3 separate regions of the Homo sapiens genome follow, and regions 1 and 2 are each linked to region 3. The links are contacts of gene promoters, found by promoter capture Hi-C in human tissues and cell types (Jung and others, 2019). All regions are on one chromosome and are shown on one strand. The core of a region is centred on a gene start or on the middle of the fragment in contact, and the rest is flanking DNA. Distances in the headings are between cores, read along the strand shown.

Evidence for each region. The method cuts DNA at HindIII sites, captures the fragments that hold promoters and counts their contacts. A contact is called where the count stands out against the background at its distance.
Region 1: a fragment that was not itself captured here is called in contact with the fragment with the promoter of SOX2 in region 3 in 1 of the 25 tissues and cell types used here (lymphoblastoid cells).
Region 2: a fragment that was not itself captured here is called in contact with the fragment with the promoter of SOX2 in region 3 in 1 of the 25 tissues and cell types used here (dorsolateral prefrontal cortex).

The regions. Positions count from the first base shown.
Region 1 is chr3:182,272,408-182,275,441 of GRCh38, reverse strand. No RefSeq gene overlaps it. Among named protein-coding and RNA genes, the nearest start is that of LINC01994, 210 kb to the left of the region's middle. The HindIII fragment of the contact is 3,228 bases long and covers 1-3,034 here.
Region 2 is chr3:181,192,383-181,195,099 of GRCh38, reverse strand. All of the region lies in intron 3 of SOX2-OT (SOX2 overlapping transcript), which reads right to left. Among named protein-coding and RNA genes, the nearest start is that of SOX2-OT, 140 kb to the right of the region's middle. The HindIII fragment of the contact is 3,772 bases long and covers 1-2,717 here.
Region 3 is chr3:181,710,646-181,713,602 of GRCh38, reverse strand. SOX2 (SRY-box transcription factor 2) reads right to left here and starts at 1,678. Exons shown (of 1, transcript NM_003106.4): 1 at 1-1,678. The coding sequence starts at 1,242. The coding sequence ends at 289. All of the region lies in intron 6 of SOX2-OT (SOX2 overlapping transcript), which reads right to left. RefSeq lists enhancers at 1-688, 689-1,542, 1,543-2,395, 2,396-2,957, a silencer at 1,778-1,837 and a promoter at 1,417-2,450. The HindIII fragment of the contact is 19,833 bases long and covers 1-2,957 here.

The sequences.
Region 1 (3,034 bases), core at 195-2,694, 560 kb before region 3:
TGGCTTGATTTAGGGAAATGGATGGGCAGCCCATCCTTGATGCTCTTTTCTTGACCTGTCCTTGAATATTTTCCTTGATTATGTCATACTTGTACATTTGTTCAGAGGTGGAGAGTAGATAGTTTAAGGTTATATTCTCTGGTAAGGAGTGAAATAACAACTTAGCGTTTATTGAGCATGTACTGTGTGCCAGAGATTCTAAGTGCTTAAGGTGTATTATTTCATTTAATCCTCATGACAATCCTATGAGGCTAACATTTTCATTTTTACAGATGAGATAAAGAGGTATGAGAGGTTAAAGGTGGAATAGTTGTTAGGTATTAAGGAATAGAAAGTAGGCAGCCTGACTCCACTGTGTGATATTGACTTCAGGAATTTGTCTGTGGTAGGTCGCTGGGGTAGGTCAGAACCTAGACAGAGAAGGAGAGGTTTGGCTTATGGCTCCCCAAACTTAGAAGCCTGACCAGAGCCAGTGCCTGAATACACTCATCCCACTTCTGCACAAATGTGATTTTGTTAATTTTTTTTTTTTTTTGAGATGGAGTCTCTCTCTGTCGCCCAGGCTGGAGTGCAGTGGTGCAATCTCAGCTCACTGCAACCTCCACCTCCCAGGTTCAAGCAATCCTCCTGCCACAGCCCCCCGAGTAGCTGGGATTACAGGTGTCATGCCACCATGCCCGGCTAATTTTTGCACTTTTTTGTAGTGACAGGGTTTCACCATGTTGGCCCAGCTGATTTTGTTAATTTTTAAACAGTCTCAAAAGTGTCTGGTAGAATAGGTCCAGAAAGATATATCCAAGGCAAACATAGCCACCCATCTTTTAGAGGATACCTTTCTAGAATATAGGAAAATATGTTTCTTCCCGATCAGAGGAGTTTCCCCCAGCTCTGACATCCAGTCTGATATTTTTAGAATATTTTAGGTTAACTTAAAAATGCACTCAGTGGCCAGGCACAGTGGCTCACACCTGTAATCCCAGCACTTTGGGAGGCTGAGGAGGGCGGATCACGAGGTCAGGAGATCGCGACCATCCTGGCTCACACGGTGAAACCCCGTCTCTACTAAAAAAATACAAAAAAATTAGCCGGGTGTGGTGGTGGGCGCCTGTAGTCCCAGCTACTCAGGAGGCTGAGGCAGGAAAATGGCCTGAACCCAGGAGGCGGAGCCTGCGGTGAGCCGAGATCTCGCCACTGCACTCCAGCCTGGGCGACTGAGCGAGACTCTGTCTAAAAAAAAAAAAAAAAAAAAAAGTGCAGTCGGTAGCCTACTAGAATGAATTGACCTTGATAGGTTCTTACATTTATCTTTAATCTACTGAAAAGCCTTCAAGTCCTGAATCAGTGGTTCTCAAAGTGTGGTTCCACCAGTAGCATCGATATCACCTGAGAACTTAGAAATATAAATTCAGAGCCCCCACCCCAGACCTACTGTTTTGGAAACTGCGGGGCAGCAGCCCAGCAATCTGAGTTTCAACATGTCCTCCAGTCGATTCCCTAAAGTTTGAGAACCACTGACCTAAACCACTTTGGCATAAATAGCCGAACCAGGACATAGCTATTAATATTACCTCTCAGGGAGTAATAGTGTGTTGGAATTAAAAAGTAGCATGGCAAGGACAACCTAGGGCTCAATTCCTTTTTTTTTAATAGATGAGAAAACTGAGGCTCAGGGAAGTGGAGAGATTTGCCTGAGGTCACACAGGAAGTTAAAAGAGTCAATGGGCTCGAACCCAGTTTTCCTGACTCCAGGCCAGAGGGTATTTTTTCATTTCTCCTGTGACAGTGACATTTCCTTGAGAGGCGATTTTCCTCTTACTCTTTTCTAGAGTGTCTCCATGGGTGGAAGCTTATACAAGTGGTTTTTACATTTCACTACCCTGAGTCCTTCTACTTATTTTCTCCATCTAAGAACCAAAAAAAAAAAAAAAAAAAAAAAAAAAAAAAAAGGTGAATGAACAAGTTTTATTATGGGTAATTCACTCTTCCATGTTCTATATACATTAAAAATGCATCAAACAAGTGAACACCCTTTAGAATTCCTGACACTCAATTTTTTTGAATGCTTGTAGAATGACTTACATTCTATTCTCTGAAAAAGTATAGGATGAGTTTTCAAATCATTAGTTGTAAGGATCCTCAAGGAATGCAAAACTCTAAATGACGTCCTTTAGGATTTCTAGTTTTCTGAGTTTTCTAAAAAATTTAAACATATGTAAACCTCAGAAGACAAGTTACATAATTTTTCTGTGCCTCAATTTATTTGTCTAGAATAATGCCTCCCTTAAAGAAATGTTAGGCAAATCAAGTAAAATGATACATGTAAAGCCTAATGCCTAACATAAAATAAATGCCTAAAAACTATTAGTTCATTCTTTCTTCCTCTTTCCTGTTCTTACTAGTGTTAATAGTTGATTGGAGGTCCAATGTAATTATTAGTGACTTTTTGAAAACTAACATAGGAGCAGCTCATCTGTTCTATAAGAAGTTGCTAGGTGATATCTCTTCTTTGATTTTTCTTGGTGGTTGTCCTAAGGGATTTGCTCTCTTTTGTGTTGATTGGACTCATGCATCCTAACCTATCTTTCCTCACCTTCCTTCATGGGACAGGGGAGACCAGAGGACAGGCCCTACCAAAGAAGAAGAGCTTATCTGTTTGGCTTCCGCAGAGTAGACATCAAGGGACTAGTTCTATGTTATGTTCTTGGGGTAGGGCAGTAATTTTTAGGCCAGTAATTCAGGAACACACTGAATAAAATAAAACTTTATCACGTGATTTTCTAATGCCATGTTTGGTGTAGGCACTAATTCACTTGTATTTCAATACAAGATAAAAATAGTCCCTTCAATTTTCTTATGGTTGCTCATATTTTGCCAAATTCAAGCATACATTTCATGTTTTTTAAAAAGAACACATATTTTAAAATGATAGAAATTGGGCTTTATGCTAGTTTGGGGTGCCAGGCTTGCCTTTCCTAAACGTCTGTCTATGAATCCTTACCTACCATGTCACTCACTTTCTTTTTCTTTTACTGAT
Region 2 (2,717 bases), core at 15-2,514, 520 kb after region 3:
CGCTTGAACCCGGGAGGTGGAGGTTGCAGTGAGCCAAGATGGCACCACTGCACTACAGCCTGGGCAACAGAGAAAGGTTCCATCTCAGAAAAATTTTTTTTTAATTAAAAAAATTTTAAAAAGGTCCTCCTTGCCCCCAGATATCACTAACAATATCTATACAATCAATAACATACTGAGATTTACATCGTCTAATACTATTTCTCAAAAGAGTATTTTCAACAATTGTGGTTATTTGGTTACGTGGGTAACTTTCCTCTCCAACTTCCAGTTGGTCAGTCAGTGATATCACATATGCAATTCATACTGCACATTTTGCTTAAGACATTCTGCATCCAAAACATTTTTAGATTGCCAATGATTCAAGATCTTCAGTAATAACTCTATTTTTGAATACAGCACTTCTTTTTTTTTTTTTGAGCTAAATGAGACTTTTTTTATACTTTAAGTTTTAGGGTACATGTGTACAACGTGCATGTTTGTTACATACATATACATGGAAAGTGTGTTTTGTAGAAAACTGGGCCCTTAAATTGCTTCACAAAAAACAGAATTCCATAGTCAAATAAATGAACAAAGGAAAGCTTTGCATTCTAATACCCATCACAGAAGTTCAGTGCTTTTACCCAACCAAGTTTTCTCCAAGAGAAATGCTAATAAAGTCCCCTACTAGGGCCGGCAACCCAAGAGACCACCTTCTTGAAACTTCACAGAGGGCCACATCAAGAAGTTTCTGCTGTCACCGAAGGCCCACACCAAACCTTTACTCTCAACCTCTCACAGAAGGATTCCCACAACCCTGAAGTTTCCTAGAAGGCCCATGCTTAGCTCTTCTTTAGAGTTTGGCCACCAGCTTTGCCTACACATCCGATAGGTCCTCGCTCTACCCATCCTTCCCTATCTCAAAATCCTAAGCAAGTAATTCACCCACAGAAGCGGCAGTCAGACATAACTTTCTAATACTAAAAATACCCCCGAAATTGAAGAGTTTCCAGGCTTAAAGGGGACCTAAGGACTTAAACACAGGTATCTGCCCCATTGCTGACTTCATGACTGCAGCAAGCACCATGCCTCTAAGAATGCCCAAAAGACAGCCTCTAGCATCAGCCTCAATCTCTGAGACAGCCTCAATCTCCTGAGAAAGCAAGGGAAAAGGGCAGCTCTCTTGCTTACAAACCCAACCCATTCCTCTCTGCTTTAGGTCTCTGAATCTGCAAGTCTCTTGCTTGGTAATCCAGCTCATATTACTTGCTTTACTCCTTCCCTTTTGTAACACATTCAGATTCTCCTCTCTAGATTACCTCTCTCTGTCACCACCTCAACACATCCCTTAACTTCAGTTTTTACCTTGATTATATTTCTAATTACTCAGCCTGCCTAGGCACCACAGTACCTAGCCTGTCTGCTCCTTCAAGGAGATGGATCAGATGGCCCACTGGCAATTCATGGCAGTGAAATTCCAATGCCAGCTGAACCTGCTCACCCATGCACCTTTTCATTTCCAACTTGGACAGAACTGAAACAAAGCCCCTGCCCAAGCTTCAACTGTATTTTTATGAGTAGTCAGCTTTTCTTTGGGAAATAGTTCTAAAATATAAAAGTAATGCTGAGGAGATTTCTTGATACTACTTCTATAATTGGCCTATAAGAAACATCCCTTAACAACTACCCAAAACAGGAGTGGAGACCAGGTGCAGTGGGTCACACCTATAATCCCAACACTTTGGGATGCCGAGGCGGGCAGATCACCTGGGGTCAGGAGGTTGAGACCGGCCTGGCCAATATGGTGAAACCCCATCTCTACTAAAAATACAAAAATCAGCTGGGCGTGGTGGCACGTGCCTGTAATCCCAGCTACTTGGGAGGCTGAGGCAGGAGAATCACTTGAACCCAGGAGGCAGAGGTTGCAGTGAGCTGAGATCACACCACTGCACTCCAGCCTGGGCGACAGAGCAAGACTCCCTCTCAAAAACAAAAAACACACAAACAACAACAAAAACAACAACAACAACAACAACAAAACGGAAGTGGGACTGCCCTACCTTCTTTTACATATTCATTTCAAGTCAACACATTCAAAGTTGAACTCAATGATGTACCCACAAACATACCACTCTTCCCTGTCCTCTCTCACTAAATGGTGCCACCTTCTTTCACATGGCCTGGAACAGACCCAAGAGTCCTTCTCTCTCAGTGTTCTCTCAGTGTTCCATCTCTCTCATTCCCAATAGATGATCATCATATTCCATTAATTCCACCCCTTACATCTCCCCCATATCTACCCATTTTCCTCATCTCAAGGCACCATTATGTCTTTACTAGATGACTGTACAAGCCTCCTGACCAAACCCTGCCTTCTATTTCCATCCCTGCTCCCACTTCACTTCGCTGTGATTATATAACTAAGGTGATCTTTCAACCTAATAATAAACACTAATGTCTATGTCACTCCTGTTCATAACACTCCCATTGCTCCCTATGATCCTTAGAATAAATACGACACTCCTCAGCAGGATATACAGACATCATGATCTGGACTTTGCTTTTCTCTCCATCTTCATTTTTCCCCACTCCTCTCCTCTCACTGTACAACATATTCTGAGTGGGTCACTTTCTCACCTTCAGAATTCTGCACATTGTTCTCACTTCCTAGAATATTCTTCCTGCTCTGCCATCTCTTTACCTGGCCAACACTGTTCATTATTCAGAATCTGGTT
Region 3 (2,957 bases), core at 429-2,928:
CTCCCCAGGTTTTCTCTGTACAAAAATAGTCCCCCAAAAAGAAGTCCAGGATCTCTCTCATAAAAGTTTTCTTGTCGGCATCGCGGTTTTTGCGTGAGTGTGGATGGGATTGGTGTTCTCTTTTGCAGCTGTCATTTGCTGTGGGTGATGGGATTTTTTTTTTTCCTTTTTCTTTTTGAGCGTACCGGGTTTTCTCCATGCTGTTTCTTACTCTCCTCTTTTGCACCCCTCCCATTTCCCTCGTTTTTCTTTGAAAATTTCTCCCCCCTCCAGTTCGCTGTCCGGCCCTCACATGTGTGAGAGGGGCAGTGTGCCGTTAATGGCCGTGCCGGGCACCGGGCCGCTCTGGTAGTGCTGGGACATGTGAAGTCTGCTGGGGGCGGCGGGTTCCGGCACCTCGGCGCCGGGGAGATACATGCTGATCATGTCCCGGAGGTCCCCGGCCTGGCAGGGCGCCCTGGAGTGGGAGGAAGAGGTAACCACAGGGGGGCTGGAGCTGGCCTCGGACTTGACCACCGAACCCATGGAGCCAAGAGCCATGCCAGGGGTGCCCTGCTGCGAGTAGGACATGCTGTAGGTGGGCGAGCCGTTCATGTAGGTCTGCGAGCTGGTCATGGAGTTGTACTGCAGGGCGCTCACGTCGTAGCGGTGCATGGGCTGCATCTGCGCTGCGCCGTGCGCATTGAGGCCCGGGTGCTGCGGGTAGCCCAGCTGGTCCTGCATCATGCTGTAGCTGCCGTTGCTCCAGCCGTTCATGTGCGCGTAACTGTCCATGCGCTGGTTCACGCCCGCGCCCAGGCCGGCGCCCACCCCGACCCCGCTCGCCATGCTATTGCCGCCGGGGGCCAGCAGCCCGCCGGGCAGCGTGTACTTATCCTTCTTCATGAGCGTCTTGGTTTTCCGCCGGGGCCGGTATTTATAATCCGGGTGCTCCTTCATGTGCAGCGCTCGCAGCCGCTTAGCCTCGTCGATGAACGGCCGCTTCTCCGTCTCCGACAAAAGTTTCCACTCGGCGCCCAGGCGCTTGCTGATCTCCGAGTTGTGCATCTTGGGGTTCTCCTGGGCCATCTTGCGCCGCTGCCCGCGGGACCACACCATGAAGGCATTCATGGGCCGCTTGACGCGGTCCGGGCTGTTTTTCTGGTTGCCGCCGGCCGCCGCCGCGGTGGAGTTGCCGCCGCCGCCCCCCGAAGTTTGCTGCGGGCCCGGCGGCTTCAGCTCCGTCTCCATCATGTTGTACATGCGGGCGCTGTGCGCGGGCCCGGCCCGCCGGCGGCCGCCGACCCTCGGCCCGGCCGGGACTTTGGGGGGCCCGCGGGCGGGGGGAGAGGAGGAGGGGAGGCGGGCGGGGGTGTCGGGAGCGCAGGGCTCCGCGAGGAAAATCAGGCGAAGAATAATTTGGGGGAAAAAAAGAGAGAGGCAAACTGGAATCAGGATCAAAAAAAGCGCTTCCCTCCTCCTCTGGCCGATCCTGCCGCCGCCGATGATTGTTATTATTATTTTTTGGAAAGGCTTAAGCCTGGGGCTCAAACTTCTCTCCCTTTCTTTCTCTCTCCTCTTCTTTCTCTCAGTCCTAGTCTTAAAGAGGCAGCAAACTACTTTCCCCCTTTTGCAAACACTCTCTTCTCTGCCTTGACAACTCCTGATACTTTTTTGAACAAGTTAATAGACAACCATCCATGTGACGGGGGCTGTCAGGGAATAAATGGGTTTCTAGCGACCAATCAGCGCGCGGCGGCTCCTCCACTCGAGCCCAGCCTCGCTGCCGGGTTTTGCATGAAAGGGGGCGGGGCCTCCCGCGCCGCCGGCCGCGCGGGGGAGGCCGGGGGAGGAGGGGGCAGGCGAGGAGGGGGAGGAGGCTCCCAGAGCCAGCCTGCCAGCCACTGAGAAACCTTTGTATCCCCTCTCGCAGCAACAGGTCACACCACACGCCTTTTCGAAGGAAGTGGGTAAACAGCACTAAGACTACGTGGGTTTTTTTTTCTTTAAACTTAATATTGATTTACTTTTTGGTGCAGGGTACTTAAATGAGGATGGGACGCGGGAAGCAGCTAAGGTGCGGGGGTGGGGCAGGGCACAGTGGGTGGCTCAGGGCGGCTGTCCAACTCGTATTTCTGGAAACAGCCAGTGCAGGAGTTGGTGTGTCATTGTTCTCCCGCTCATCCACAGCACTCCCCCCCAACTCCAGCCCCTCTGGTGCCGCTCCCGTACTGCGCTCTTCCGCTCTCCTCTCTTACCTTACAGGTGCCAACACTCTCTCACGCCCTTCTCACAGTCCCGACTAGAAGTTAGGAGACCCAAACCTCTGTCCTCAAAACCTTCCTTGCTTCCACGTAACTTGCTCTGTTCTTAAAAATAAATCCTGCTCGGACCATAAGGCAGACTCTAGAGCTGAGAACCAGCAGGCCTTGGTAAGCTGCCATCTCCCTGTCCAACTCAGCTCTTTGGCCCAGGAAACTGCAGCTCTTCCTCTTAGCCCCAGCCACATCTCCCACTAGACTGTCTTCATTCAACCGTAGCAAAGGGGATGCTTCTACTGTCTGCCCCCACTCCCCATTCCCATCCCATGCCTCCCCGTAAGAAGGGTTTCGGTCGTGCGGCTTTCAAATGGGGGCTGGGGAAAGACACAGACGGAAGGGCGCTCAAAAGTGCAGGCGATGGGGGAGGGTGATTTCAACTTCCTGGCATCCCACGGCACTGTATGGAGGTGGCTTTTGGGCCGCAGTCACAAACTCCCTCCCACGCAGAGTTCCCAGGACTCCAGCAGAACCAGCCCTGGCATTTTCCCCGTAGATTTCCATTGTGGTGGCCGCAAAGCCCAGGCCGCGCAAGGCTGGGGCTGCGCCGCAAAGGGGCTCAAGGCCTGGGAGGCGGGGTCGATGCTCTCCAGGCACAGGTGCAGGCAGCGCACACTGGGAGAAGGCGGCCGGGACTGGGGAAGGGGGAGCCCAGCAAGG